4 separate regions of the Homo sapiens genome follow, and all the other regions are linked to region 1. Evidence: promoter capture Hi-C in 16 types of primary human blood cells and fetal thymus (Javierre and others, 2016). All regions are on one chromosome and are shown on one strand. The core of a region is centred on a gene start or on the middle of the fragment in contact, and the rest is flanking DNA. Distances in the headings are between cores, read along the strand shown. Region 1 holds the start of SCN4B (sodium voltage-gated channel beta subunit 4). Region 2 overlaps KMT2A (lysine methyltransferase 2A). Region 3 has its middle 3.2 kb from the start of DSCAML1. Region 4 holds the start of TTC36 (tetratricopeptide repeat domain 36).

The links. The method cuts DNA at HindIII sites, captures the fragments that hold promoters and counts their contacts. A CHiCAGO score of 5 or more calls a contact.
Region 2: a contact is called between a fragment that was not itself captured here and the fragment with the promoter of SCN4B in region 1, in 5 of 17 cell types (neutrophils, total CD4 T cells, activated CD4 T cells and 2 more). The highest score is 8.3, in neutrophils.
Region 3: a fragment that was not itself captured here is called in contact with the fragment with the promoter of SCN4B in region 1 in 1 of 17 cell types (naive B cells); the score reaches 5.1 in naive B cells.
Region 4: the fragment with the promoter of TTC36 here is called in contact with the fragment with the promoter of SCN4B in region 1 in 8 of 17 cell types (neutrophils, naive CD8 T cells, M1 macrophages and 5 more); the score reaches 7.2 in neutrophils.

Annotation. Positions count from the first base shown.
Region 1 is chr11:118,150,745-118,154,435 of GRCh38, forward strand. SCN4B (sodium voltage-gated channel beta subunit 4) reads right to left here and starts at 2,079. Exons shown (of 5, transcript NM_174934.4): 1 at 1,869-2,079. The coding sequence starts at 1,929. RefSeq lists an enhancer at 2,697-3,197. The HindIII fragment of the contact is 14,636 bases long and covers 1-3,691 here.
Region 2 is chr11:118,493,477-118,496,756 of GRCh38, forward strand. KMT2A (lysine methyltransferase 2A) reads left to right here. Exons shown (of 36, transcript NM_001197104.2): 17 at 812-922; 18 at 1,218-1,291; 19 at 2,224-2,417; 20 at 2,785-2,891. Among named protein-coding and RNA genes, the nearest start is that of TTC36, 32 kb to the right of the region's middle. The HindIII fragment of the contact is 3,432 bases long and covers 1-3,229 here.
Region 3 is chr11:117,798,699-117,802,152 of GRCh38, forward strand. It overlaps a transcript of DSCAML1 not described here. Among named protein-coding and RNA genes, the nearest start is that of DSCAML1, 3.2 kb to the left of the region's middle. The HindIII fragment of the contact is 1,254 bases long and covers 931-2,184 here.
Region 4 is chr11:118,524,978-118,528,723 of GRCh38, forward strand. It overlaps TTC36 (tetratricopeptide repeat domain 36), which reads left to right and starts at 2,497. Exons shown (of 3, transcript NM_001080441.4): 1 at 2,497-2,635; 2 at 3,626-3,746. The coding sequence starts at 2,518. It overlaps KMT2A (lysine methyltransferase 2A), which reads left to right. Exons shown (of 36, transcript NM_001197104.2): 36 at 1-1,855. The region is part of intron 1 of TTC36-AS1 (TTC36 and KMT2A antisense RNA 1); the gene reads right to left. The HindIII fragment of the contact is 1,033 bases long and covers 1,864-2,896 here.

The DNA.
Region 1 (3,691 bases), core at 829-3,328:
TCGTCTCTGTATCTCCCCCACTGGACTGAGAAGCAAGGATGTCATCTATGTCCCAAGCTCAGACCAATGCCCCTGTGAGGGCTCAGTCAGTATTACCTGGTCAAGGGCCAAAGGGACTTTGGTTGGAGTCCCTCTGCAGACCAGAGGGGCAGGGGACAGAGCAGATGAGGCCAGTCCTGGGGCCTGCAGGTCTCCCACCTACAAGTCACTCTGCTTTCTCCTGGGCTCCCAAAGGGTAGCTCAGAAATTCATCTAAACCTATATCAATAGGCCTTAGCCCCTACCTGGTCTATACAGCTGAACAGTCCTTGGAGAAGGTGGGGCTTCCACCTGGAGCAATGTACCAAGACTGTGCCTACAATCCCCCTTACACACGTGCACACACACACACACACACACACACACACATCATTTTCAGGGCCCTCTTGGTTGCCCACAGAGGCCTGGTTCTATGAGTATTCTAACAAACAAGGGACTGGCATCCCACCACCCAGGAAGGTAAGCCAGAGGTGTGAAGTGGGGTAGTTTAATGACTGGCTGAGTTTGAATTCCTCAGTGATCCTTTACCCCTGCCATTGCCACCATGGGGACCTGGGCTGATCTGAGATGGGATGAGGGGAAGTAGCATGGAATGGCGCTGTGCCCACCCTGTGAAAAGGAGCCTCAGGCGTCACTAAGGCCCACTTCATTAAGGTCACTGTGAAACCAGCATGACATCTGTGCCAAGGTACAGGAGAAAACAAGGGTGTCTTCCATCTAGCGGTACAGAGGTAAATAAACATCCCAAGTACAAGAAATACTCTCTCCCCTCTTCACCACCAGGCACCAACCTGCTAGATCTGCACACAGTTTACATTCGCAGAAACAGTAGCCACTTCCCTTATAGGGTTCTGTCTCCCTGTTTTCAGCAGAAATACCTACACCGTGTGTCTTACCCAATGCAGGGAGCTGCCAAAAGCCAAATCTGACCAATATAAACAGGAAGAGATGCCGTTGCCAGAGATGGAGTCGGCTTACATTAAAGTCTGGCTATGATTTATGAGGAGATTACATCCTGGATGAATAAATATCATTCCCTAATCTCTTGGAGTTTGACACTCAAAACTCTCATGTGCATATTAATAGATATTAATAATGCTTCTTCCTCCGTGTCCTCTGGACATGTCTTCTCTGTCTCCATATTCACTTCAAAAATGAAGAGCCAGGAGCAGGTCAAACAGGTCTTCCCTACGGAATCTCTTTGTAGGAAGAGAGACAAGGCCGTTCCTAAAGGGCCTTGAATGATCCCGCAAGCCCCTCCAGCCCCTTCCAGCTTTCAGGTGCTGCTGTAGGGAAGGCAGTGGCTCCTGAGGGAGGTACAGGGCAGAGGAGCAAAGCAGGAAAAGGGCCCAGGAAGAAGGGGACTCCCCCACCCCCAACTGGTGCATGCCTGGTGCCTGGGAAACAAGCAAACGGCTCTGGGCCGGGATGGAAACCACCATTCCAACAGTCACACGTGCAACCCACCTGGTATCCCCTGCACTCAAGGCACGGACCCCCCTCCTCCAGCATCCTGAACCTCTGAACTCTGGAGACCCGCGCTGCAGCCCCAAGATCCAGCTCCAAATACCTGGAGCCGAAGGTGCCAAGGACAGCAAAAAAACTAATCCTGAGACTGGCGGGCTGATGGGGTAGAGAGGGACGCACACGGTCCCCAGGGAGCACAGCCTATGAACCAGGCAGGAACCAGGCAGGAAGCCGGCGGCCACCATCCTCATTCCGTGCCGCACTCCAAAGCCCACCCCATCCAAGGCATCTTCCTTCTCGAGTGTCCCCTTCTTTGGGGGTGGGGGGAGGCAAGAGAAGAGACCAAGCTGGGGCTGCCTTACCCAAAAGCCCAGTGCCCAGCCATCTCGCCGGGGCTTTGCCTCCGTCCCCAGCCCCGGGCATAGTCCTGTTCTCTCCGGAGCGCGCGGGGGTCGCGGGGATGGGATACTGGGCACAGCCGCGCTCTCCGCCCGAGGTCGGCGTTCGGCCACAAAGCTACCCCGGAGCTCTGCGCCGCCGGTCGGGGCTCGGGAAAGTTAGCGGGCAGAGAGCGAGAGGAGGGGGAGGGAGGGAGCGGAGGGGGAGGCGCGCTCGCCCGCTGCTGGGAGCCGGCTGCTGGAGCAACGGCGGGAGGGAAGGAGTAGGAGGAGCCGGAGCAGGAGCGGGAGGAAGACGGAGCGAGCGCAGCGGCGAGCGAGGCTGCGCCTCTGCTCTGGAAGCGCTCCAGCCGCAGGAGGGGCGGTGGCCGCCGCGTAGGCCGGGGAGCCCCCGCCCGCTGCGCACCCTGCCTGCCGCACCCCGCCTCGCGGTCCCGGAGCCCCGGGACCACGCCGTGCCCCCAACTCCCTCTCCAGTGGGGCTGGGCTGCTGCGGCTGGCACTGCAGGGCCGGCCTGCAGCCACCCGCATCATCCCATGCGCTGAGCTGCCAATTAGGAGCATAGTTCGGGGGGAGTAGAGGTGGAGCTTTTCGGTTGCTGGAAGACTGTTTTGCTTTGCTTGGGGGAACACGGGAAGGTTAGCGGCTCCCTCTCCCAGGACCGCCAAGGGACCGCTTTAAAGTCCGCAGCGGACGCTGCCGCAACGGGTGGGCGTGTGCGGGCTTGCCCACTGCAGCTTGCGCCTCCTCGGTGGCGTGCGACATGGCGCGCGTGCAGCCTCGGGACCCGCTCCCGCCACCTTCTGCCCCATCGCTCAGCAACTCCGGCGGTTGTTTTAGGAAGCCCGGAACAGAGCTTTCCCATTGCAAACTGCCCCGGCCCTCCCTTCCCCCACCCCCACGCCACCCCGCCCCACATTTCTCCATGGACCCCTTGGAAATCACCACGCTCCAGGTTAGGGAGCAGGTTGGTCCGCGCCTGGTCTGTGTCCTGCGCCCCATTTCACCCTCCCGCTGCACCCCTGCTTCTCATTTTTCCTACCTAGGCCGTCCCCCTCAGATGCTGCCTTTTCGCCCTCCTCCAACTCTCCTGTTTTCTTCGGAACGGCAGACTCCCTCGGCCTCCCTTTTGGGGTAGGGGTGGAGGAGTCCAGGGTGACAACCAGGTCAGAGGGCTGAGGCGAGGCTGTGAACGAGTAAGCCTTTTCCCAGACAGGCCCAAGTGAAAGAGTTTCACCTGAGCGGTGCTACTTGGGCTGGTGGTTCTGTAAATGAGTCGATCTCCTCCTCAGCACCTTTCCAACCATCCAAGACCCTCCCTGCATCACAGGCCCTCTTTACTGTCTAGGACTGGTCCGGACTGGGAAGCCCGCTCCCACTTCATGGTCTGACTTCTGCTGCAGGCACACCAACGCACCGCCTTCTTAACGAGGGGTCTCTGGGTGGACTTCGGCGTGATCACGGACCCCTTGAGGTTGCAGGCAAAGTGCTGAATGTCTGTTTGCTTTTTCAGGAGAGAGGGTCGCTGCCTTCCCTATAGTGGCACAGAGGCTCTGGCAGCGCCACCATTTATGACTGTATGGCTTTGAGCAAGTTACATGGTCTTCTGGGGGAGCCTCTGCTCCTCACCTATAAAATGGTGAATGCAATGATATTTGCCTCCTAGGCTTATTAAGAGCGATGTTACCCCTGGACCTGGGCAACAGAAGCCTCAGCCCTGATTTCTGGTTTTAAAGGCCCTCATTCTGGCCCTCCTCTGGCCATGCCCCTCACTGGAGAATGAGTC
Region 2 (3,280 bases), core at 264-2,763, 340 kb after region 1:
AATTATTTTTATATTAAGAGGAAGCACTAAGAAACTGTTGATGTGGGAAATGCTAATATGAAATTAATTGGTTCTCCCTCCCCTTTTGAGATCAGATCTGAATAATGTGCCTTTCTTTATAAGGTCTTCATTTGTAGATAGATGCCTGTTAATTTTATGATTTTAAGTATGTATAGGAAATGATTATTTATTATCTCATGATCTATATTTGCGATTCTGTTGTTTATTTTTATTTATTTATTTATTTATTTGAGATGGAGTCTCGCTCTGTTACCCAGGCTGGCATGCAGTGACATGATCTCGGCTCACTGCAACCTCTGCCTCCCGTAATCAAGTGATTCTCCTGCCTCAGCCTCCCAAGTAGCTGGGATTACATAAGCATGTGCCACCATGCCTGGCTAATTTTGTATTTTTGGCGGAGATTGGGTTTCACCATGTTGGCTAGGCTGGTCATGAACTCCTGACCTTAAGTGATCCACCCACATCAGCCTCCCAAAGTGCTGGGATTACAGGCGTGAGCCACTGTTTATTTATTTTAATCCAAAATAAAAACTGTGGACCTGCTTGGATAATTTATCATGATACAGCCAATTTGTTTGCATTCTTACCTCATTAGCCTGGCATCTCTTAATTGCCACAGGTTAATCGTGAATTGAATCTCAAAGGTCTCAGCCAAAGAGTATTATACCACATTAAAATAGGGTGTGAGTTTTCTGTTGGATCTCTGTGCTGGATGATTAAGGAGGGAAGAGGAAATGGTTTTCAGAGCACACTGTTTTAAGAATAATTAACATTTTGTTTTTGTATACAGTTGGAGTTCAGTGATGATATTGTGAAGATCATTCAAGCAGCCATTAATTCAGATGGAGGACAGCCAGAAATTAAAAAAGCCAACAGCATGGTCAAGTCCTTCTTCATTCGGGTGAATGATATTACTAATTCATGTTTTTAATGCTTACCTATAAGTAATTACCCTGTGAATACAATGAACTTGTTCTCTTCTACTTTTTGCTTTGTGGTGTGTATAAAACATCTTTGGTTTAATTTGATCCCCTGATTCTTTGAGAGGAACTTGGTGAGGTTGCCAGAGTGGATGGATCTTTCTCTTGGTGGCCTGAAATTATCCTCGTATTAACAGAGAAGCTGGTTTGAAGATTTTTCATGTGGTATCTAAATGAGTGTTTACATATTTACATTTTGTTTGTGTTTTCTTTTAGCAAATGGAACGTGTTTTTCCATGGTTCAGTGTCAAAAAGTCCAGGTTTTGGGAGCCAAATAAAGTATCAAGCAAGTAAGTGAATTTAGCATAACTTTTTTTTCTCCTCATCGGCTAGAAATCTGAGAGTTCTCATATTTCTAGATTGCAGTTTTCCAAAAGGTTTTAATACTAGAAATGAATTGGTTGAAATGCCTTTTCGGTGTGGTTTTGAGGACTACATTTAATGTTTGTTATAAGCAATTGCCTTTTTGTTCTTTACTTTTATATTTGTTTTATTGTAGGGAGCTTGGTTTAATTGTGACAAATGTACAATACATGTGTGGTACAGCCATGTAGCTGGCCTTGTTATAAATGGGTTCTGTTTGACTGATAGTTCAAATGGTGCTTTGTACTGCTCTTGATTTTCCATATGTAACCTTTAATTTTTATTCCAGTAAATTCTTTTGATTTGATTTTATTTATTTATTTATTTTTTTTTTTTTGAGACGGAGTCTCGTTCTGTCACCAGGCTGGAGTGCAGTGACATGATCTCGGCTCACTACAACCTCCGCCTCCCTGGTTCAAGCGATTCTCCTCCCTCAGCCTCCCAAGTAGCTGGGAAAACAGGCGGGCACCACCATGCCCAGCTAATTTTTGTATTTTAATAGAGACTGGGTTTCACCATTTTGGCCAGGATGGTCTTGATCTCTTGACCTGGTGATCCGCCTGCCTCACCCTCCCAAAAGTGCTGGGATTACAGGCATGAGCCACCATGCCCGGCCTCTTTTGAGTTTTTGATAGGGTTATCATTTGTTTCAGCAAGTTTAACCAAGAGTCATATGTTGAGATATTTTTTAAAATATTGAGTTCTGTGTACTTCAGCAATTTTCAAACGCTGTGACTTGTTCTTATATTCTGTGAATGGCTCCTACATGGGGCAACAGGTGATATCAAGAATTTATTTTATACAGTTCTAGGTATACTGTAGGAGTTCAATAAATGCTTGTTGAATCAATTATTTTCAGCAGTGGGATGTTACCAAACGCAGTGCTTCCACCTTCACTTGACCATAATTATGCTCAGTGGCAGGAGCGAGAGGAAAACAGCCACACTGAGCAGCCTCCTTTAATGAAGAAAATCATTCCAGCTCCCAAACCCAAAGGTCCTGGAGAACCAGACTCACCAACTCCTCTGCATCCTCCTACACCACCAATTTTGAGTAAGCCACCAAAAGGAGAGTCGTCACCCATTTCCCTCTAGATGCAGATGATTGACTTCGTGAATCCAATTCACTAAAATTAGATATACTTGGATATCAGAAAGGAATTTTCAGGTCATCCTTAAATGTAATACCATCATTAATTTTGCTTCACTTGAGGTGTTAATGAGGACTTGATATAAATACTCTGGAGTATTGTAACATAGATGATGAGGTAGCGTAACTCTGAACACTTTTTGAAAAGTGGTTATTTTATAGGCTGTGGGCTATGTAAGCTGAATTATTTCTTTTTTCCTTGAAATCAGACATAGTATTGCCAATTTTAACTGGATCTCAAGGTATTGATGGGAGTCTTTTGGATTTCAAGGTACTGATAGGAGTCGAGAAGACAGTCCAGAGCTGAACCCACCCCCAGGCATAGAAGACAATAGACAGTGTGCGTTATGTTTGACTTATGGTGATGACAGTGCTAATGTAAGTACTTTGCAACACAGGGCCCTAGTTAATACATACTCCAAAAGAACTGTTTGTCCTTGTGTCCATACTTGATGACTGGGTGCCATTTATTTAATGAACTTACTTATAACTTACTAATTTATAACTTTTATTTACCTATAACTTATAACTTATTAATTTGTAACTTATTTTTTGTCACTTAGTTCATGGCACTTGGAGTTTTTTAATGACTGATTTTGTTGATTAAAAGGTGACTGATTTGCCTTAAATTAAACCCTTGATGTCTAGTAATTTCTAATGGAAGTTCCTCAAGAATATTTTGTGAAAGTTAATAAAATCTAAGTTGCATATTAAAAAGCTTGTGTTTCATATAGGATAGCAGAATCGTTAAGAGCCCGAGTTCTGCC
Region 3 (3,454 bases), core at 308-2,807, 350 kb before region 1:
TCATAAAGTATGTATCCTTTTGTGCTTGGCTTACTTCACTCAGCATAATGTTTTCAAGGTTCGTCCTTTAAACGGGTGAGAAAATCGGGGCTTAACTTGTTCAAGGCCACCAAGGTTGTATCAGAAGCAAGACTAGAACCCAGGCCTCCCGACTCCAGAGCAGAGCTTGCTCTATAAGCTGCAGCATCCCTCGGTGGCTCAGCTCTTCATGCAAAATCACCACCCTGAAACAATTTGCAGGAGGTGTTTTGTCATCTGGAAACACAGGCATAGAACAGAGACGGGGGGACAGACTGCAGGGGGTGTTTGAGATGACCCAGACCGATCTTTTGCTTTACAGATAAGGAAACTGAGGCCCAGAGTGGGGAAGCCATGAGCCTTCCCCGAGGTCACGCAGGGAGTGACAGAGCCCTCACGTTTCCAGTCTTCTGTCTTAGCTCCCATCTCTCACCGCCCTCAGCCTGCTGGCTTATTCTTCTACCATGCCCCCTCCCTTCTAAAGGGAACGGTCATTGAGAGGAATCCAGTTATTTAAAACTAAGCCTATTGACCCAGAGCACCTGGTCAGGTCATGCCTAAAATAAACCGCTAAGGCAGACAGGATGAAAGGGGCTGCTGTCTGCTGGGAGGGGATCTGAGTGGGCCTGGGGTAGCGGCACAGCTGCTCCGTGCCTCACACGCTGGAAGTAGCGGTGGACCCTCTTCTTTGCATCCACCCCAAGTACCTCCTACAACCTGAGTGTAGGAGGCTTTATGCTAGTTATACACAGGGGGCTTTAAAGAACCACAACATGTGTGTTACCCGAAGGGCGAGGTCATTCATTGTGCCGGTGACTGCAGTCTGGCTGTCCCGGGAGGAGACATATACGTGGAAATAAACGGGTGGTCAGTTGGGGAGAGCAGACCTGGGGACCCCCTCTGGCAAAAGGAAGCTTTCTAATGTCATGGTTAAGAGCCTGGCTTTGGAAACAGCAGGAGATGAGTCCTCAGCCCAGCTCTGCCACTTGCCAGCTGTGTGCCTGGGAAATGTATGTGTGCCAAGCTGCAGTTTCCTTACCAGTGGAATGGGGACATCCCCAGCATCTGCCTTGGAAAGTCGTAGCGAGGATTAAATAAGACAAGCCCCATGGCTGACGCATAGTGAGCACAGGTAACTACCATGAATGGGAACAGCTTTGCTCACAAGGACCTTGACCTGTGGGAACTGGGAGGAGGGAACAGCTCCACTGGGGGAATGCTGGGACGATATTGTGCCTTCCATGCTGTGACAAAGCCAGAGCCAAGGAGCTGGGAATCCAGGAAAGGGGCTGCAGAAACACGGAAGGTGCACACTGAGGCGGAAGAGCCTGGAGAGATGGCTAACAAAAGAAGGACCTGAAAAACAGGCAGGTCAGGCCTCATGCTTTTTGTGTTTCCCATTGATTTTGTTCTTCCTTAGTATCTAGGGAAATGTCTTTGAAAATGACAGGTTGGCTCAGATGTATTTAGAAGTCTCCTCTTCGACAGGAGTTGTATTGGGGTGGGCAAGCCAGCATGCCAGGAAATCCCAAGGGAAAAATGAAACGCCGGGGAAGAGAGTCAGGCGGCGTGTTCTACCCCACGCCCACCTTAAACCCTGACAGTCCCCTCCCCAGCTGACATTTTAGAGGGGCTATATTTTGATAGAAGGGACAGTTCCCAAAATTATATGGAAAACTTCACACCCACACACAAATATATTCATGCCAGAGTGAGAACAAACACAGTTGCCCAGGCAAACATTCATGTGTACAGGTAAACATAAACACCTAATGACAGGCACACCTGTGCTTCAATGTGATTTGAACCCAATCCAGAAATTCTGCATTGGCACCTATGCATATGCTCCATTTTTTTAAGCCTCAAATTTGTGGGATTCCTTTCTAGTAGGGACACACTACCCATTTAAAAGCAGTGATCAGTTTTAATATTTTCTTGCATCAGAATGCTGGGTGATGATCTGTCTGTATTTTGGCTTTTGTGCTTTTGTTTTTGTTTTTTTTAAACAATGCCAGTTGAAGCAGCTATATGAAGTCACTGGGAGCTGAGCCCTCTCCAATTCAGGTTAATCATGGATATTTAGGGGGTATTATTTTGCCATGTTATATTAAGACTAGAGCCATCCTGAGAAACAGCAGATGTTTTTATTGTTTAACTCAAACAATAAGCTTATATATTTTGGATACTTTTCTTCAAAAACAAAGGCATAAAATTATTTTAACAATGGCTTCATATGCCCTCTGGAATTCTTTGACAACTTGAGTATAAACAGGGTTTTCATAAAAGGAATCAATACTGAACCAGGTCTGTGTGAAAAACTTAACTTTTGGTATTATATAGCTAATTCAAGATTGACCTTCTTAGTACTTACTTATCAGTTGGGGGAGGAAAAAACAAGGATCTCCCTGCTTCCCTCCCCAAAATTTATAATTGATTTTAATATTATAGAAAGAGTTCTCATCTACAAATCAGAAATCCTAGGTTCTTGTGTCACCTCTGTCTCCATAGCCAGCTGTGTTACCTGTGACAAGTCACCTTGCCTTTCTGGACCTCAGTTTCTTCACCATTGAGGTGAAAGAGCTGGGCTGGAATGATCACCAAGATCCCTTCCTAGGACCAAACACAAGGTAAATGCAAACAAATATGCCCATTCCCCCCTCCTACCCCACATAGGTGTATAGTGTGTACCCACAAATGTGTGCAGGCAGAGAAACAGAAGCTTTTATGCACAGATATTCAGAAACTAATAGGCACAAAAAATTACACAAAATAAACAGTTTTGGCTTCAAATATATACACATACATCTAAAATACCATCTTCTTGAGATGAGATGAATCAGTACAATTCATAGACTGTGATGCCTATATATAAAAAAATATTATGTGTCATTATACTACCCAGGTTCTCCTTAAACCAAAATTCTGTCTGCTGGGCTCAGAAGATGTCTAGGTATGCTTGCCACTTACTCTCTCATCATTTTGGATGATAATATTATGGCTCTAAGATCACTGGAGCAAAGGGTCTAAAGCCCTGGGGCTCCGCCTGTACAGATGCAGTCTCTGGGGTCCCATTGCCCTTGTTCAGGCTGCTGTCTCAGCAGTGACACCAGGATGGTTGGTCAGGGGCTGCGGAAGCCCCCAGCAAGGCAGGAGTCCCCTGAATAACTGTGGCCTCTCTCCTGCTGTTCTTTCTCAGCTCACAACTCTGAAATCGGTTGAGAAGCCAACCCAGAGAGGTTCCATGTAGTCCGGATTCGACAGAGCTGAAGCTCATTGTCACATTTCTCTCTGGGGAGCAGTGGGGTGGAAGGTATGGAAACTAAGAGAGATAGGAAAAAAAAGAAAGTGCAATGAGCAGAGCTAAACTTGCTGGCTTCCCAAGTCTTCCGGCATTTCTTCTGGCCCATGTGTCACTCACAAATGTGCTTATCAAATT
Region 4 (3,746 bases), core at 1,247-3,746, 370 kb after region 1:
TTGTCAACCACAAAAATGAGAAATTCCTCTTCTAGCTCAGCCTTGAGTCCATTGCCAAATTTTCAGCACACCTGCCAGCAACTTGGGGGAATAAGCGAAGGTTTCCCTACAAGAGGGAAAGAAGGCAAAAACGGCACAGCTATCTCCAAACACATCTGAGTTCATTTCAAAAGTGACCAAGGGAATCTCCGCACAAAAGTGCAGATTGAGGAATTGTGATGGGTCATTCCCAAGAATCCCCCAAGGGGCATCCCAAATCCCTGAGGAGTAACAGCTGCAAACCTGGTCAGTTCTCAGTGAGAGCCAGCTCACTTATAGCTTTGCTGCTAGAACCTGTTGTGGCTGCATTTCCTGGTGGCCAGTGACAACTGTGTAACCAGAATAGCTGCATGGCGCTGACCCTTTGGCCGGAACTTGGTCTCTTGGCTCCCTCCTTGGCCACCCACCACCTCTCGCACAGCCCCTCTGTTTTTACACCAATAACAAGAATTAAGGGGGAAGCCCTGGCAGCTATACGTTTTCAACCAGACTCCTTTGCCGGGACCCAGCCCGCCACCCTGCTCGCCTCCGTCAAACCCCCGGCCAATGCAGTGAGCACCATGTAGCTCCCTTGATTTAAAAAAAATAAAAAATAAAAAAAAAAGGAAAAAAAAATACAACACACACACAAAAATAAAAAAAATATTCTAATGAATGTATCTTTCTAAAGGACTGACGTTCAATCAAATATCTGAAAATACTAAAGGTCAAAACCTTGTCAGATGTTAACTTCTAAGTTCGGTTTGGGATTTTTTTTTTTTAATAGAAATCAAGTTGTTTTTGTTTTTAAGGAAAAGCGGGTCATTGCAAAGGGCTGGGTGTAATTTTATGTTTCATTTCCTTCATTTTAAAGCAATACAAGGTTATGGAGCAGATGGTTTTGTGCCGAATCATGAATACTAGTCAAGTCACACACTCTGGAAACTTGCAACTTTTTGTTTGTTTTGGTTTTCAAATAAATATAAATATGATATATATAGGAACTAATATAGTAATGCACCATGTAACAAAGCCTAGTTCAGTCCATGGCTTTTAATTCTCTTAACACTATAGATAAGGATTGTGTTACAGTTGCTAGTAGCGGCAGGAAGATGTCAGGCTCACTTTCCTCTGATTCCCGAAATGGGGGGAACCTCTAACCATAAAGGAATGGTAGAACAGTCCATTCCTCGGATCAGAGAAAAATGCAGACATGGTGTCACCTGGATTTTTTTCTGCCCATGAATGTTGCCAGTCAGTACCTGTCCTCCTTGTTTCTCTATTTTTGGTTATGAATGTTGGGGTTACCACCTGCATTTAGGGGAAAATTGTGTTCTGTGCTTTCCTGGTATCTTGTTCCGAGGTACTCTAGTTCTGTCTTTCAACCAAGAAAATAGAATTGTGGTGTTTCTTTTATTGAACTTTTAACAGTCTCTTTAGTAAATACAGGTAGTTGAATAATTGTTTCAAGAGCTCAACAGATGACAAGCTTCTTTTCTAGAAATAAGACATTTTTTGACAACTTTATCATGTATAACAGATCTGTTTTTTTTCCTTGTGTTCTTCCAAGCTTCTGGTTAGAGAAAAAGAGAAAAAAAAAAAAGGAAAATGTGTCTAAAGTCCATCAGTGTTAACTCCCTGTGACAGGGATGAAGGAAAATACTTTAATAGTTCAAAAAATAATAATGCTGAAAGCTCTCTACGAAAGACTGAATGTAAAAGTAAAAAGTGTACATAGTTGTAAAAAAAAGGAGTTTTTAAACATGTTTATTTTCTATGCACTTTTTTTTATTTAAGTGATAGTTTAATTAATAAACATGTCAAGTTTATTGCTGCACATGGTTAAGCTTCCTTTTGGCTTTGGTTGGAGAGGGTGGAGAAAAGCGGGAGGGGCATGGCCTGTGACCTGGTCACAAAGTACCTTCCACAGTCCTTTACTTTAAGGTGGCATCACTAAATTATTCCCTGTAGCCCACCTTCAGGTCCACTCCACACTGGCTCTCTTGACTATTTTCTTCCTTTATTCATCAGTGATGTATGTTCAGGACCTAATTAATTGTGGATATGAGGCAGGGTCAAGAGGACAAAGGAACAGGGCCTTTACCTTCTACATAGCTCCCCTGTTTCATCCAAGGAGGTTAAGTATTGATTTTTATCGGTTTTCTCAACTGTGAATATAATAAACTGAAAGCATTTCAGGGAGAAGCTGGAGAACACCTTCTCTAGCTGCACTCCACCTTAAGGCTGAAGCTGGATTTGTTTACTGTTTCTCCTGGGGGCAGGGGCAGTTGAGAAATAACCAAGTAGTCTGCCAAGCCAGGGTCAACCCTCCAGGCCACAGGTTGAGCAAATGCTACAGCCATGGACAGGGAGACACTCCTCACGAAGGGGTGGTCCTCATCCTTTCAGATCAACTTCCTGCTGGAGGCTCCACCCTCACCACGTCCCTCCCTCTTCTCTCATCTGGAGTCACCTTTTGGGATTTTGGAGTTGAGCACCATGGGGACTCCAAATGATCAGGCAGTGCTGCAGGCCATCTTCAACCCTGACACCCCATTTGGAGACATTGTTGGATTGGACCTCGGAGAGGAAGCAGAAAAGGAAGAACGAGAAGAAGGTGGGCATTTGATCTGGAGTGTAGCTCTGCACATAGGCTGGCCTGCTGGCCTCCCGAGGTAGCAGAGAGGGAGGTGGTTTTATAAGGCCCCTTGTTCCATGATTATGATTGAGATTGGAATCAGAGAGGTTGGCTGCTCCTTAGCGCACTGATGGGGGTTTGGTAAGAGATGTCCTGCCAAGAGGAGTAAGCTGGGGTTTGTCTCTCGATCCATCAGCTCTCATGCCTCTGAACTTACCACTTAATTGACTGTATGATCCAAGCTTAACTGCCAGGTGATGTTAAACTCTCACATTTTTGTCATAACAGAGAATACCACCACCAGAACAGAAGACTGAAATAAGGCAGGGCATGGTTGCTCAGTTGAGTGGTTCCAATATAGCAAGCACAACCAGTAACCGTTAAACACTGTCACAAGCCAAGCTCCAAACTAACTCTTCCGCAGTGAGTGCGTTCACTGGCTTTTCCATTAATCCCTAATGAAGGAGTTTTTGATCCTTTGTTTCTAGAGGAGTAAAGCCTACACCTTACTAACTCAGGCCGAAACACAGAGGGATACGTCAGAAGTGATGTTCATGATCTGGGAATGTCATGGTGGCCTTTGCATAAGAGGCGGTGTAGTAGAGTAAAATGCAGACAGGAGCCAGAATGACCTGGGTTCAAATCCAAGCTCTGCAACGTATGGCCTGTTGAGGCCATACACAAAGAACTTGAGCAACTTCTTTAACAGATTGAGGAGTCTGGGCTTCATTCTCTTGGCAATGGGGAACCAACCAAGGCCCCTTCCCAGGTCTCTTGGAACTCAGGCAATGCTAGCTCCCAGCCTTAGTGACCTCATCTCCCCCTACCCCAAACACTGCAACTGACCCCTGCTGTGACCCATACCCAGTCAGCTCTGGCTCAGATCTCAGAATTCCAAAGCCTGAGGTGGCTTTTTCTTCTTGCTACCAACTGCACACCTGGCTTCTCCTGGCTCCTTCCCTGGCCCAGATGAAGTTTTCCCTCAAGCACAGCTGGAACAGTCCAAGGCCCTGGAGCTGCAGGGGGTGATGGCAGCAGAGGCTGGGGACCTCAGCACAGCCCTGGAGAGGTTTGGCCAAGCCATCTGCCT